Regions from separate parts of the Homo sapiens genome. Here region 1 is linked to region 2. The links are contacts of gene promoters, found by promoter capture Hi-C in blood cells and fetal thymus (Javierre and others, 2016). All regions are on one chromosome and are shown on one strand. Each heading gives the region's core, a stretch centred on a gene start or on the middle of the fragment in contact. The rest is flanking DNA. Distances are from core to core; before and after follow the strand shown. Region 1 holds the start of RUNX3 (RUNX family transcription factor 3). Region 2 holds the start of RCAN3 (RCAN family member 3).

Region 1 (6,364 bases), core at 224-2,723, 420 kb after region 2:
TTTGAGAGATTGGGGATGACAAAAGGGACTTGGAGACTAATTAGGAGCAGCAATGAAAGCTTAATTCATAAAAGCAAACATTTTCCATCCATCAACCTGCAACCAGTTAAGGGCACCGTTTGAAAGAAATCTGTGTGTGGGGAAGGGAGCCAACAGGAACAGGAAATGTTTGAAAGAATGTAAACTATTTCAGTTTCATAAAAAGTAACAAGTAAACAGTTATTACATGCAAATAATGTCCTGGTTTTAATTAATGCTGAAAAGTCAAAATATGGCTGACATTTGTATGTATACATCGAACGGCTGGAAAGGAAAAAATGGTGCCCAGATGCCTGTTTCAGAGCGGGGCTGGCAGCTCAGAGGGAACTAGAACCTTGAGAAGGTCCTGTTTATTGGTGATGAAAAGCACGGTTCTGCTTCAGCCACTTCAGCCTGCTGTGGAGTTGGGGAGCAGAGGGAACCCAGCTTACTTCTTAACAAAGCTAGAGGCGGGCCTGGTGCTTGGGAAGGGCGACTCCCACTTCAGCCACTTCTCGTAGGCAGGCTGGTCTTAAAGGGCCAGTGGACCCTCAGGCCTCCGTTCCACAGGGGCAGGGTTTCCAGGACTTTCCCATCCAGGAGTTAAGTGATGATGGGTTTCAGGTCCCAGAAGCCTCCCATTCAACAGCCCCCCACCCCCGTCCCGCCTTCCTTCTGCTGCTCAAGGTCGGTCAGACAGGCAGGGTGGCACACCCGCCTTGACTCTGGGGCAGGAGATGGCAGCCTTCGAGCTGTGCTTTCCAACATTCAGCTGCGTTAGCTTCCGTTCTAGACCACCTAGGGCTCAAAGGCGCTGGGAAACTGGGTCTGGGAGACCACAGCTGGAGAGACAGCCTCAGAGTGTGGGGGATATTCTGCCCCCTATGGAGAGAGTGGCTGGGGTGCTTGGGCCCCACAGATCAGGGACTTGTCCTGCAACCGCCTTGCTGAAAGACCTATAAGCTCCCTTTTTGAGCTTGTTAATCCACCATCTCCTGCCAGCATTTTTTGTGAGACCAGGTGTGCTTAACCGGGAAAGAGGGGGTGGCATGAACGGTTTCAGGAGTTGGTAAACCCTAGAAACTGGGAGAAAATTGTCTTTTTCTGGCAAGAGACCATAACTTTCCTCACCTCCTCAAAGCGATCTGTAATATCCTACAGGATTACAAATTGCTGTTTTTAGACAGAGCTGCATCTGGAGACCTGTTTTTCGGGATTCTAAGGCCCCTCTTTCAACCTCCTTCCCTGCTGCCCCTGCCATTGCCAATGCTGAAATGGCGAGGCCTCCCTTCCACTTACCTCGCCCACTGCGGCCCACGAAGCGAAGGTCGTTGAACCTGGCCACCTGGTTCTTCATGACGGCCGAGGCATTGCGCAGCTCAGCGGAGTAGTTCTCGTCATTGCCTGCCATCACAGTCACCACCGTACCATCCGGCACGTCCCCCAATGCCACCACCTGAAGACACGGGGCGGGGGGATGCAGGGGGACAGCTTAGAAAGGAAGAGGGTGACCAGGGAAAGGAGGGGAGGGGCTGGGCTGGGCAGCTCCCCCAGGTCCCAGGCACACTGAGTATTTCTCCAATGCAGGGTGGAGAAGAGGCTTAAAAACAATAAAGACCTTCCCCCAAATATCACGAAAACAAGAAGATGGAATCTCGAGCTTCCACACCAAAATCCTAGATCAACTGCTTACATAAACTGTGTCCCAAGAAATCATCCTTTCAATGAAATCTAAGCCAGAGCTGTGAATCAGCTCAGTCACTATGATGTGGGGTGCAGTTCCCCTGTTGTCTTCGGCTGCAGCGAAAGAGGAATCAACATGCTCCTAGCAACGAAGTCTCCAAATGAGAAAGAGTAACAACAATAATAACAACAGGGCTGCTACCCCCACTCAATTTATGCAAGAGCTGTTTAGGGCATGAAATTTGGCCCTGAAATGTGGACCAGGCCCAGTTTATTGGCCTCTGCAGAGCCTAAATTCGTTATGCAGAGAAAATGCAGAATGCAAAACTCACTGGTGTTTTGAAAAAGGCCACCAGAAAACCCCTTTAAAGTGAGAGTGGGGCTTTTGATAATGGAAGGATGCACCTGCCGGGAATTGCAGGATGGGGGTGGCGATGTCCCCCTAAACACCATCTCCCCCAAATCCCCCACCCCCAGGAGCACGGAGAGGCGGATGCCTTTTGAAAAAGAATCAGACTTTAAACAGAGTCACAACTATTTAAACGTGGCCGCCGCGTGCAGGGACTGGGGATCCATATGGTAAAAATTTCAAGGAGAAAATGTTTGGGATCTGATTAAGAAGACCAGATTTCCTGTCAACATCCTGTCTTCTTTTAATTTCAAAGACTCCTTTTAAGCTCCAAGTGACAGTAAAACCTCCGATCTGACGATTAAAGTCACACGGGCCTCCCGCCCCTCCCGGCGAGATTTCCCCCACTGGTATTTTAAGATGTCACCCGGGAGACCTCAAAGAGCCACTCTTCCTTTTTTTCCCATTTAGAGTCGTCTTAATGGGAGCAGGGACGGCCTCAGCTTCCAGCCACCTCGGGCAGCACCACCCCCAGCCGCCGGCCCTTCCTGCCCTGCCCTTTTCTCACGGCAGCTGTGAGAGGTTTAGGGGAAAACCGAGGCGTTTTCGTTTCATCTCGCTGCCCCCTTAAAAAAATGAAAATGAAACAGTCGCCTACTCCCTGGCATAAAGAAAAAGGTCCTCTAAATGGCTGGGGGCTGCCAGGGTTAGGGGTCCCCCAATCTCAACTCGCCATTCGGGACGCATAATATCCCCGAGCAAACGTCTGGAGAGCAGTGCCCCGATCCCGGCCTAGCGCCGTCCGGTAAAATTTCGGAAGCCCGAGGGTGTGAGCAGGAAGCTTTTGCGAAGCGGCGCGGGAGGAGGGGTGCTGGAGGCGGAGGGTAGGCCCTTTCACCGTTCGCACCCCACCCGCGGTGTCCTTGCCCCTGTCCCGGGATCCTCTTCTCCGTTACCCGCAGGGCTGTATCTGAGCGATCCGGGTTAGGGGGGCGCAAAACCCCATCCGCCCATTTCCGCACCAACGTCTCTACGCAAGGCGCCCCAAAACCCAGGTGGAGCGGGGCAACCCCGTTAAAAGTCATTCCTGCAGGGCGCATCCAAAACGGAACGCCGAGGTCCCGGAGCCGAGCGCGCAGCCAGACTGAACCGGGTGCCCGGGTGTCGCCGCGGCGTCTCGGGCACCTCCCATCCCCACTGCTCCCGAGGCTCTGGCTCCCGCAGCTCAGACGCCCGGAGCCCCAGGGCCGGCGCCCTCCCGCCCCGGGTCCCGCACTCACCTTGAAGGCGACGGGCAGCGTCTTGTTGCAGCGCCAGTGCGAGGGCAGCACGGAGCAGAGGAAGTTGGGGCTGTCGGTGCGCACGAGCTCGCCTGCGTGGTCCGCCAGCACGTCCACCATCGAGCGCACCTCGGGCCGGGCGCGCCCTCCGGGCCCCACGGCCGCCTGCGCGCTCAGCGCGCCGCTGTTCTCGCCCATCTTGCCGCCGCCGCCGCCGCAGGGGAAGGCCGGGGAGGGAGGTGTGAAGCGGCGGCTGGTGCTTGGGTCTACGGGAATACGCATAACAGCGGCCGTCAGGGCGCCGGGCAGGCGGAGACGGCGCGGCTTCCCCCGGGGGCGGCCGGCGCGGGCGCCTCCTCGGCCGCCGCTGCCGCGAGAAGCGGGAAAGCAGAAGCGGCGGGGCCCGGGCCTCAGGGCGCAGGGGGCGGCGCCCGGCCACTACTCGCCAGGGCCCGCCCGCTGCGAGGCCTCGCTGGCCCGACGGCCGCCCGCAGCCTGCCCGGCTAGTCCCGCATCCTCGGCGCGCGGCCCCGCGTGCGGCCGCCCCTCGTGGCTGTCCCGGCTGCCTGGGCCGCGGCGGGGCCCGCGCGGGGCTGTGCCGCTGCCGCCGCCTCCCGCCCCGAAGCTCGCCCGCGGCCGCCCCGACTCCGCGGCCGCAGCCCCAGAACAAATCCTCCAGAATCAAGTGGCGGGGCCGCGGCCGCCCGCGCGGGGTTAGTACCCCCGGGGCCCGCGGGGCGGGGCTGGCGGAGCGACGCGTCGCACAGCCAATCGGCGGAGCCCCCATCGCGGGCACCTCGGTGGCGTTCGCGGGGAGGAACGGGGCCTGCCGGAGGCCGCCCAACGGGGAGGGGCGGAAGGCGCCACCCCGCGGAGGAGGCCCCAGTGCCACAGCCCAGGGCCCCCGAGAGCTCTGGGAGCCCGGGGCAAATGCTAGAAATTTGCTTAGAACGTCCGGGTCCCACGGAAGGCGCCCTTGCCGCCCTCTCTCGGGTCGTAGCTCCCTGACGCTGGGGCGCAACCCCTTCGCTCCTCCTCCCCGCTGGCCGCGGCCGGGCTTCCCCAGCTCTTGCTGCTTCGGGCCTGTGACTTCTGCAACCCCGGGCTGGGGGCCGCGGGGTCTCAGGGCCGGTGACGCCGCACTGGGAGCCGCCCCAAAGAGGTTACTCACCTCCCTCGTCCCGCACATTATTCTGACCCAAGAGCCTCCACCCCACACGGGATTTTGCGCGTCGTCCACGCCCGGCCGGCGGCCTTTGCTGCTCCCAGCCCTGCGCGGCTTTGGTCCCAGCCTCGGTGGCCCCTGTGCCAAACCGGGGACAGGCGGAAGGGAGTCTCCTAGGGACCCTAAGTAGCCTGGGGCCAACAACCCCTTTCCTCTCTGCTCTCCCCTCAAAACAAGTTTCAGGATCTTGCAGGCCTCGCGGCGTCGTTCTTCGTTGTGGCGGCCTGTGGCTCTTTGAAAAACACGACGAGGCCTGCAAAATGCGTTTTTCTTTTTTTCCTTTACGCATGTAACCACGGTCCTGCATCGTGAAACGGTACGCGCGTCGGTGGCAAAAGAAAAACAGCAGTGGCTGCAAAGCTAAGGGCCCTCGCTTTCAGAGGAGAGAATTTTCTTTCTCCATGCGGGTGGAAAGTGGCCTCTGCGGGTCCAACCCCACTTCTTCTTGGGCCCGTGCGCTCCGGCTGCGCCGCAGGGACCGCGGACAGCTTCGCCAAGGCACTGCCTGCCCGCCCGGCTCCGGGTCCCCGCTCCCACTCCCAGCCGCGTGGCCCAACCTCTCCTGGGCTTCACTGCAAATCACCCCTTCCTCTCCCGCCTCCTAAGTCTGTCGAGCAGACCTAGGGGCCGGCTACAGTTGGGAGGGCAACGGGAAAGATCAAGCCACAATCATTCCGAATTATCGCCCCAGACACCTCCCTAGACTCTGGGGAACGAACGCGTGCTGAGCCTCCCCGCCGCTTTGGAGACGGGGCTAGATTTTCGTTGCCTCCGGCTCTCGACAGGTGCAAAACAATGAATTCCAAGCCTCGGAAGCAAAGAAGCTTAGGATCCGACGGTGGCCGCAAGATCTCATCATGGATCTGACCCCTGCTCAGCGCGCGCCATTTCGTCGTTGCCAAACGAAATCAAGCCCCGCGTGCGCTCCAGGGGCGAAGGACTCTGGACTCACCCCGACCACCGGGAGAGCTGGCCCCTACCCACCTCGGGACCTCACAGCACGCCCTCAGGCCGTGTCGAAAGGAAGGACGGCAAAGGTCCCTTACTGAACCTTTTAAGAGAGCCTGCGCCTGGCAGTTGTCGATTGCGGACCCAGGCCCGCGCGCCCTCGGACGCGCTGGCACGAGCAGCAGAACTAGAGGAAAGCGAGTGATCCAGCCTGGGCGCTCCCACCTCCGGGAACGTCTCCGAGAAGGCGCAGCGCGTCGTGGCCAGGTAGGGCCCTGGCCGGGGGCGGGCAACACGTGCTGCCCTCGAGCAGGTTGCGGGACCATGACCCGCTGTTTCAGGTGGTGGTAAATTCCATTTGTCGAATGGTTTCGGTTTGCACCGTGCCCTTTGCTTGTTCCTCCGCCTGATTTCTCCCTCTCCGCTTACGATGGGTTCACAGACAAGTTTCCAGAGAATGAGGGACTCTTGTGGGCCCTGGCACCTGGCGCAGGGCCCGGCACGGCTCCGGCTCTCCGTAGGGCGCTGGCTCCCCGTGGGCACCAGATCCAAGGGACCAGGGCGGCGGGGGGAGGGGGGGCGGGTGCAGGCCCTTGGGTCCCCAGACCAAGGTCGCGGGGCCGCCTGGCAGGCACAGTGGCGGGAGCCGCCGCTAGTTGGCGCCCGCGCCCTGCCAGCCGCGGAGGTGCGGGCCCGGCCGGGCTACAGATGCGCGCCAGCTGCGGCCCCGGGTGCAGGCGCGGCGACCGCCCCCGAGGAGCTGCCCTTTCCTTGCCATCCATGCGGCCAGGTCTCAGACAAACCGATGGCTTTGTGTCAAACCAAGGCCGCCTTCCTCACCTCTGATAAGATGGACGCCTT
Region 2 (6,511 bases), core at 798-3,297:
TAAATTAAGCTAATCTGGTTGTTTGACTTAGGATCTCTCAGGGCCATTTTTTTTGTGTGAACGTGCATCAGACATCTCCAGGCAGGGCTATGGAATGCAGCTGTTTCCAATCTCATTTGATGTGAAAACTCAATTTTTTGGCCAGGTGCAATGGCTCACGCCTATAATCCCAGCACTCTGGGAAGCCAAGGCAGGAGGATTGCTTGAGTTCAGGAGTTTGAGACCAGCCTGGGCAACATTGTGAAACCTTGTCTCTACAAAAAGTAGAAAAATTAGCCAGGCATGGTGGCATGTGCCTGTAGTCCCAACTACTCAGGAGGCTGAGATGGGAGGATCACTTGAGCCTGGATGGTTGAGGCTATGATTGTGCCACTGCACTCCAACCTAGGCAACAGAGCAGACCCATCTCAAAACAAACAAAAAAACACCAAAAAAAAAAAAAAAAACAACCCTCAATTTTTGCAAAAGTTGCTGTGTTAGAGGAATTTAGAGAAAAAATAATTACTATAGTCCTTAGAGTGACCTTGACAAAAGAAGCAGCTTGCCATCAATATTAGTTAAACGAATGAAAGTGAAGAACTTAGTTTAAGACAAGATGGGGAGCAGGAGCAGCACGGTTGGAGGCAGCAGGAACCACAGAAGCAGCAAGCAGGAAGTAGGAGGGGCGATCTGCTGGACATACCTCGGTGACTATGCTGGGCTCAACTGCTGGGGAGCCCTTGGGGTCATAATCCAACCCTGATTTCTTAGTTTACATCTAACAGGGATTAGATGTGCTGTACACATTTTAGTCCATCTTCCTGCCCCATGATGCAGGCGCTGAGTGCCTTTGATGTTAAGCTTCACTGTGCCTCACTTTGCCTCTGAAAGGTCTTGAGTGGGTAATGAGAGCTGATTTTCTTCTAACTGCACATTCCTTTTTTTTTTTTTTTTTGAGACGGAGTCTTGCTATGCTGTCCAGGCTGGTCTCAGACTCCTGGCCTCAACCGATCCTCCCACCTCTGCCTCCTGAGTTAGCTGGGACTACGGGTGCGCACCACTGCGTGACTGCGCGTCCTTGTAGGTGGGAGATGAGCCCAGTTATTTTCCCTGCTGTGTGACCCTGCTTCCTTCTCTGCCGGCTAAGGGAAGAGACACCAGCTGCCTTCCAAGTTGGGCTCAGGAGCTTTGTCATCATAGTTGTTATTGGTGGTAATAATACCTGCCAATGTAAGCCTCGGTCCTATCACTGAAACTCGCTCAACAGCTTAGACCCCGGCTCTTCCCTTTGCGTAATAGTTGTAATCATGTCCCATGGTCTCCTAAGGCGTCGGAGACAAGCAAGACTGCGTGGAAGGGTTTTTACACGAAAAAGAAAGCATTAAACATGTGGATTGTATGACAACGGTAGATAGGGCATAGGGTGAAGAGGAGTAAGAGGAGGAGGGAGAGCGGGAGGAGGGAGAAGAGCACGAGTGGGGAGGAGAGGAGGGGAGGGGATGGGAGGGGAGGGGAAGGAGTGGGTAAGGGGAAGAGGGTTGTACCCGCCAGGGCGGGACCCAGCCTGTGCCGTCCCACACCTTGTGCTAGCTCCAGCTCAGCTACCTGCGGCCGCCTCTCCTCGGGCAATGAGGCGCCGGGAAGCCCACAGCATCTGATAATATCCGGGCCGCCGGTTGCCGGGAGGTGAACCGAGGTAAACTCGCCGCGCGCGGGGCGCAGTGTACATAGTAACCAGCCCTGAGTAAACGTTCGTCATATTCCTATGAGCTGCTCCGGGGACTGTCCTACGGGGCTAGCAGGAAAAGGAGATCGGCTCTCTCCGCTCCCGGTGGAAAACGAGAAGGTCGCCAGAGGTCCTGTTTTCGGGGTGATCTAAAGCCCCCGCCCCAGCGCTACAGCCCAAGCCCCCCACAGGCTGGGGACCAGGAACCCGGAGGAGCGGGAGGAGGGCGCGCGCGGCGAGACACCCCCACCCCGGCCCCCGCGCGCCCCCGCCCCGGTCCCCGCCCGGGTCCCCGCCTTGTCCTGGGCTCTGGCGCCTGCGCCGCCGTGCGCGCGCCCTGCCAGAACAGGAGGGGACGAGGCGGGCGCGCGGCGCCGGCAGCCTAGCTCAGCCGGGACACCGCCCTAGTCCCAGCCCAGGGGGCCGCTCTCGCCGGCGTCGAGGGCGTGGCGGCGAGGCTGCTGCTGCAGGCGGCTCCCGGCTCTGCCTTCGGCCCCGCCCGCCGCCCACCAGGCTCCCAGAGGCCCCGCAGCTCGCGCCGTCCGGCTCCCCGCAGCCCCGTCGGGCAGCCCGGGCCCGTCCGCTGCCCTCCCGGCTCCCGTCCTGCGGCGGCGGGGCGTGCAGGTGAGGCCCCACGGCGCCCGGCCTCTCCAGCAGGTTTGCACCCAGCGCGGGGCGGGGCGGGGCGGGGCGGGTGGGGGGGGTGGTGCATGAAAAGTTAAAAAAAAAAAAAAAAAAAAAAAAGCCGCCCCGAGAAGTCCGGGAGGGGTGGGCACTCCGAGCCGCGGGACCGGGAGATGCTACCGCGCGCGACCTCGCCTCCCGCGACCTCGCCTCCCGCCGCACCCTTCTCGCGCGCGGGGTCTAGTCTGGCAGCCTCGAGGGTGGTGTCCCGGAAAACAAAACAAAAATGTTTTGTCTTCTCCACCAACGATTTTCTCCCACCAAGTGTGTTTGACCTTTTGAAAAGCCGACAGGCCCAGCCTGCCTGTGAAGGCAGGAGCGGTGTAGGGGCGCCTGGAAGGTGGAAGCCCCCTGTCTTTCTCCCTTGCCCCGCTTCCCCCACGGTGCGTGGATCACCATCGCATTAGTGACTCCCTAACTTCTTGAAACTTGTCTGTCTGCTTCTGTCCGCCGCCTGGACAGGTAGGGCAGGAGTGATCTGTTCCAGGTTGATTCTTCTAGCTTCCGTGCAAAATCTGATCATCTCCTTTAGAGATTAGGATTCTAGTGTAGGAAGCAATCCAGATCCGTGTTTCAGATACAAACAAGGATTATTTAAAGTGATGTTTTCCTGTAGTGCTGAAAGCCAAAAATATTCGCTTCCACTTGTTGGAAGCCACCAAGTACACCACATTTATTTGAACTTTTCATAGAAGTCTCTGATGTACTATTTGGCAAAAGAAGCAATTGATTTATCTGTAGCTGTGATTACATACGATGTAAAGTAATTTGTTTTAAGACTATTTCATTGGCTTTGGTTCAATATCTTAAACTCTGTAAACACATAATTCAGGAGCCAGATATGCATCACACAAATGTGTTCTTTTTGGTGGGGATTTAAATTGATCTAGAAATGGGCTTTCCATCCAGGAAGACTGTGAAAAGCTTGAAAACTGAGTCTCTTCTTTAGCCAGGTCATCAGCTTTACATTTTACTGCATTGGCAAGCCTTGCCTTTTCTTTTCTCTTCTCTTCTCTTTTCTTCTTTTTGAGACAAGGCCTCGCTCTGTCATCCAGCTGAAGTGCAGTGGTGCAAACACAGCTCACTGCAGCCTCAACTTCCCAGGATCAAGCGATCCTCCCACCTCTCAGCGTCCTGAGTAGCTGGGACTACAGATGCCGGCTAATTTTTTGTAGAGATTGGGTGTCACTATGTTGCCCAGGCTGTTCTTGAACTCCTGGGCTCAAGCCATCCGCCCACCTCTGCCTCCCAAAGTGCTGAGATTACAGGCATGAGCCACCGCACCCAGCCAAACCTTTTCTCTCTTAGCCTGAAAACAGATTTCAGTGCTTTTCTAGGAAACAAGATTTTTCCTGCTGTTGAAATATAACGTTTGTAAAGGTTTCAAACATGTGAACATTAGGTAACAGACAAGAGCAGATTTTATATGGTGTTAGAGTTGTTGGTTGAAGGACTTAAAGCATGAAAAATAGTGTGACGCGGAAATCCATTAGCCTGAAGCCTGTGAAATAATGGAAGCTCTAAAGTTCAACACCGTTTGTTACTTAGAAAAAAAACACAGAAGGTGGAGGTCGGACAGCAATCTCCACTTTTCCCCTAGAATGTAGAGGTTCTATCCAGGGAAAAGAAATTATACACAGCACAACAAATAGCATCAGTCTTATATATCTCAACTTCAGTTATTCTTTAAAACCTGTTGTTTTCATATGTTTTGTAGGCTGGTTTTTGTTGTTTATTTCTATCTGTCTCTTGCTGACAAATTCCTGGTGGAGTGGAACTTCAATTATAACAGGACCAATTCTAGGTTATCTGTGAAAACAAGACATGGGTCATTGAAACATACAAAATACAAAAATCAAATTTTCACCCGTTTTACTTTACTGTCGCACGAAATTTTTCTTACACACAGCTACTAAAAAATAGTACAGTTCTACCTGTAAGTGGTAAATGAGTAGAGAATAGAAGGTAGGGCTTCGTGATAGCCGTTCAGAACTTCGCATTGACGATCCTAAGTGGCTTTTTGTTGTTGCTTTGTTTTTTTTTTTCTCTTTTTTCTTTTTTTTTTTTTTTTTTTTTCTTTTTTTTGAGATCTCCTTCTGTTGCCCAGGCTGGAGTGCAGTGGTGCAAACACAGCTCACTGCAGCCTTGGCCTCCCAGGCTCAAGTATTCCTCCCACCACAGCCTTCTGAGTAGCTGGGACTACAGGCGTGCACCATGTGTTTTTTTGTAGAGACGGGGTTTTTCCATGTTGCCCGGGCTGGTCTCGAACTCTGGAGCTCTGGCAGCCCGCCTGCCTCCGCCTCCCAAAGTGCTGGGATTACAGGCATGAGCCACCACACCAGTCCAAGTGTTTTGTTTTGTTTAACTTAGTTGAAATTTTTAATTTAGAAATTTAAAAAAGGAACTTAGTAGCCCAAAGCACCTATGTTTATTTTATATATTTTATACACTTTATGTATTTTATCTTGTTCATTTTATAAATACAGAAAAACCAAGGGATTTTTCCCAAGGTTATACAGCAGGACACTTGTAGAGCTGATAATGGAGCACTTGTTTGCTTCCAGTATTGTTTGGTAGCATTTTTAACATACAAAAAAAGTGAAAAGTACATCTAGCTAAGATACTGAAATGTTCACCAAGTTGGGAAGCCTATTAATTTGAAAAATTATTATTATTTTAATCCTGGAGGAGAAAGAATTTGCGTTTTCCTGATCAGAACAGAAAATGCAAGATCCATGCCATGTGCTTGACATTTTGCCTTGATAGATGACTTTTGTCACAGGCCTGTTGTGGCAGAGCAGATGGTCATGCTACTTGGAGTTTTTCCACTCATTTGATATTTCCATGAAGAAACAATTTGCCAGAAGCCAGCCGTAGTTAGAGTTGTGCTGGAGATGACGGGAAACCTGGATTAGCACAGACTTTTGCTTACAGGAGCTGGAGGATATCGGTTCAGCCCTTTCTGCTGGGCCAGTCAAGAGTTCCCTGGATTGGTAAACTGAGGAACAGTTTAGTCTTGTGATAGTTGGAGTGGAGCTATAATTATACCACTGCACTCTAGCCCGCATGACAGAGACCCTGTCTCTAAAAAAGGAAAAAGAAAGAAATATAGATATCTTGGGACAAACGACAAATAATTTGACAATAATCTAAAGAAAAATTGAAGGAAAATAGCTAAGACATTATTAGGATAACTGATAAAATTTGAATCCAGATTATGCATTTGACAAATTATGTATTAGATAATAGTATTATATCAATGTTAAATTTCCTGTTTTTGATAATTATCCTATGGGTTATATAAGAAAATGATCTTGTTCTTATACACTGAAGTATTTGGAAGTAAAAGGGGTATGCTCCATCTTTCAATGGCTCAGGAAAATGCATGTCTATAAAAATAGAGAAAGATAAAGCAGATGGTCAAAACAGAAGGAATTGGTGACTCTGGGTAAAGGATACAGCATACCCGAGTTCCTTGTGCTATTCTTATAACTTCTGTTTGAAGTTATATCAAAAAAAAAAAAAAGGTACTCAAAATTGAAGGTAGAAAACAGGAAATGAAGGTGTGATATTCTAAGAATTTTTTTTTTTTTAAGTCAGGTGAAGGATTATTTCCTGTGTTCTGTTTTTTAAAATCTTTTTACGGGTTAGACGAGGGAACTTGAAACAAACAAATCTTATCAAGAATAGGTTGACTTTCTCAAATTTCAAAATCTAGTCAGCCAGAGCTCCCCAACTTACCAGCCTCCAAAAACCCGGGCACAGTATTTTCTCTACCTCTTTTTAATGGGTTGGGAATAGGATAGAAACATTAGTGCCTCTAAGAGATAAGATACAAAGACAGCCCACCTTTAGAGATACTAAAAGTTAAATTGCACTTGGTTTTATCATTTCCCTGCCTAAAAACCCACAATGGCATGCTGATATTGACATGGTTTTTGTGTCAAAACTCTGTAACCCTACTTGCTTGGCAACCTGGCCCATACCTGCCTTTCCGACTGTCTCATGCCACCCCCACCAAACACCTTGCACCCTAGCCATGCCAGATCACGTGACCTTTGTGCATGCTGGTCCTACTGTCTTCCTGCCTTTGTTCATGTCCTGCTGGCTTTGTGTGGAATG

Evidence for each region. Contacts are between HindIII fragments. The CHiCAGO score rates a contact against its expected background, and 5 or more counts as called.
Region 1: a contact is called between a fragment that was not itself captured here and the fragment with the promoter of RCAN3 in region 2, in 1 of 17 cell types (non-activated CD4 T cells). The highest score is 5.7, in non-activated CD4 T cells.

What each region holds. Positions count from the first base shown.
Region 1 is chr1:24,926,257-24,932,620 of GRCh38, forward strand. It overlaps RUNX3 (RUNX family transcription factor 3), which reads right to left and starts at 4,020. Exons shown (of 5, transcript NM_004350.3): 1 at 3,331-4,020; 2 at 1,318-1,474. The coding sequence starts at 3,612. RUNX3-AS1 (RUNX3 antisense RNA 1) reads left to right here and starts at 4,201. Exons shown (of 4, transcript NR_183341.1): 1 at 4,201-5,770. RefSeq lists enhancers at 545-814, 2,226-2,960, 2,609-2,788, 2,961-3,694, 5,134-5,723 and silencers at 3,259-3,698, 3,899-4,368, 6,039-6,258. The HindIII fragment of the contact is 2,832 bases long and covers 58-2,889 here.
Region 2 is chr1:24,500,789-24,507,299 of GRCh38, forward strand. It overlaps RCAN3 (RCAN family member 3), which reads left to right and starts at 2,048. Exons shown (of 5, transcript NM_013441.4): 1 at 2,048-2,362. It overlaps RCAN3AS (RCAN3 antisense RNA), which reads right to left and starts at 1,594. Exons shown (of 2, transcript NR_144360.1): 1 at 1,560-1,594. RefSeq lists an enhancer at 734-833 and silencers at 1,437-1,609, 1,891-2,390, 3,897-4,097. The HindIII fragment of the contact is 2,473 bases long and covers 839-3,311 here.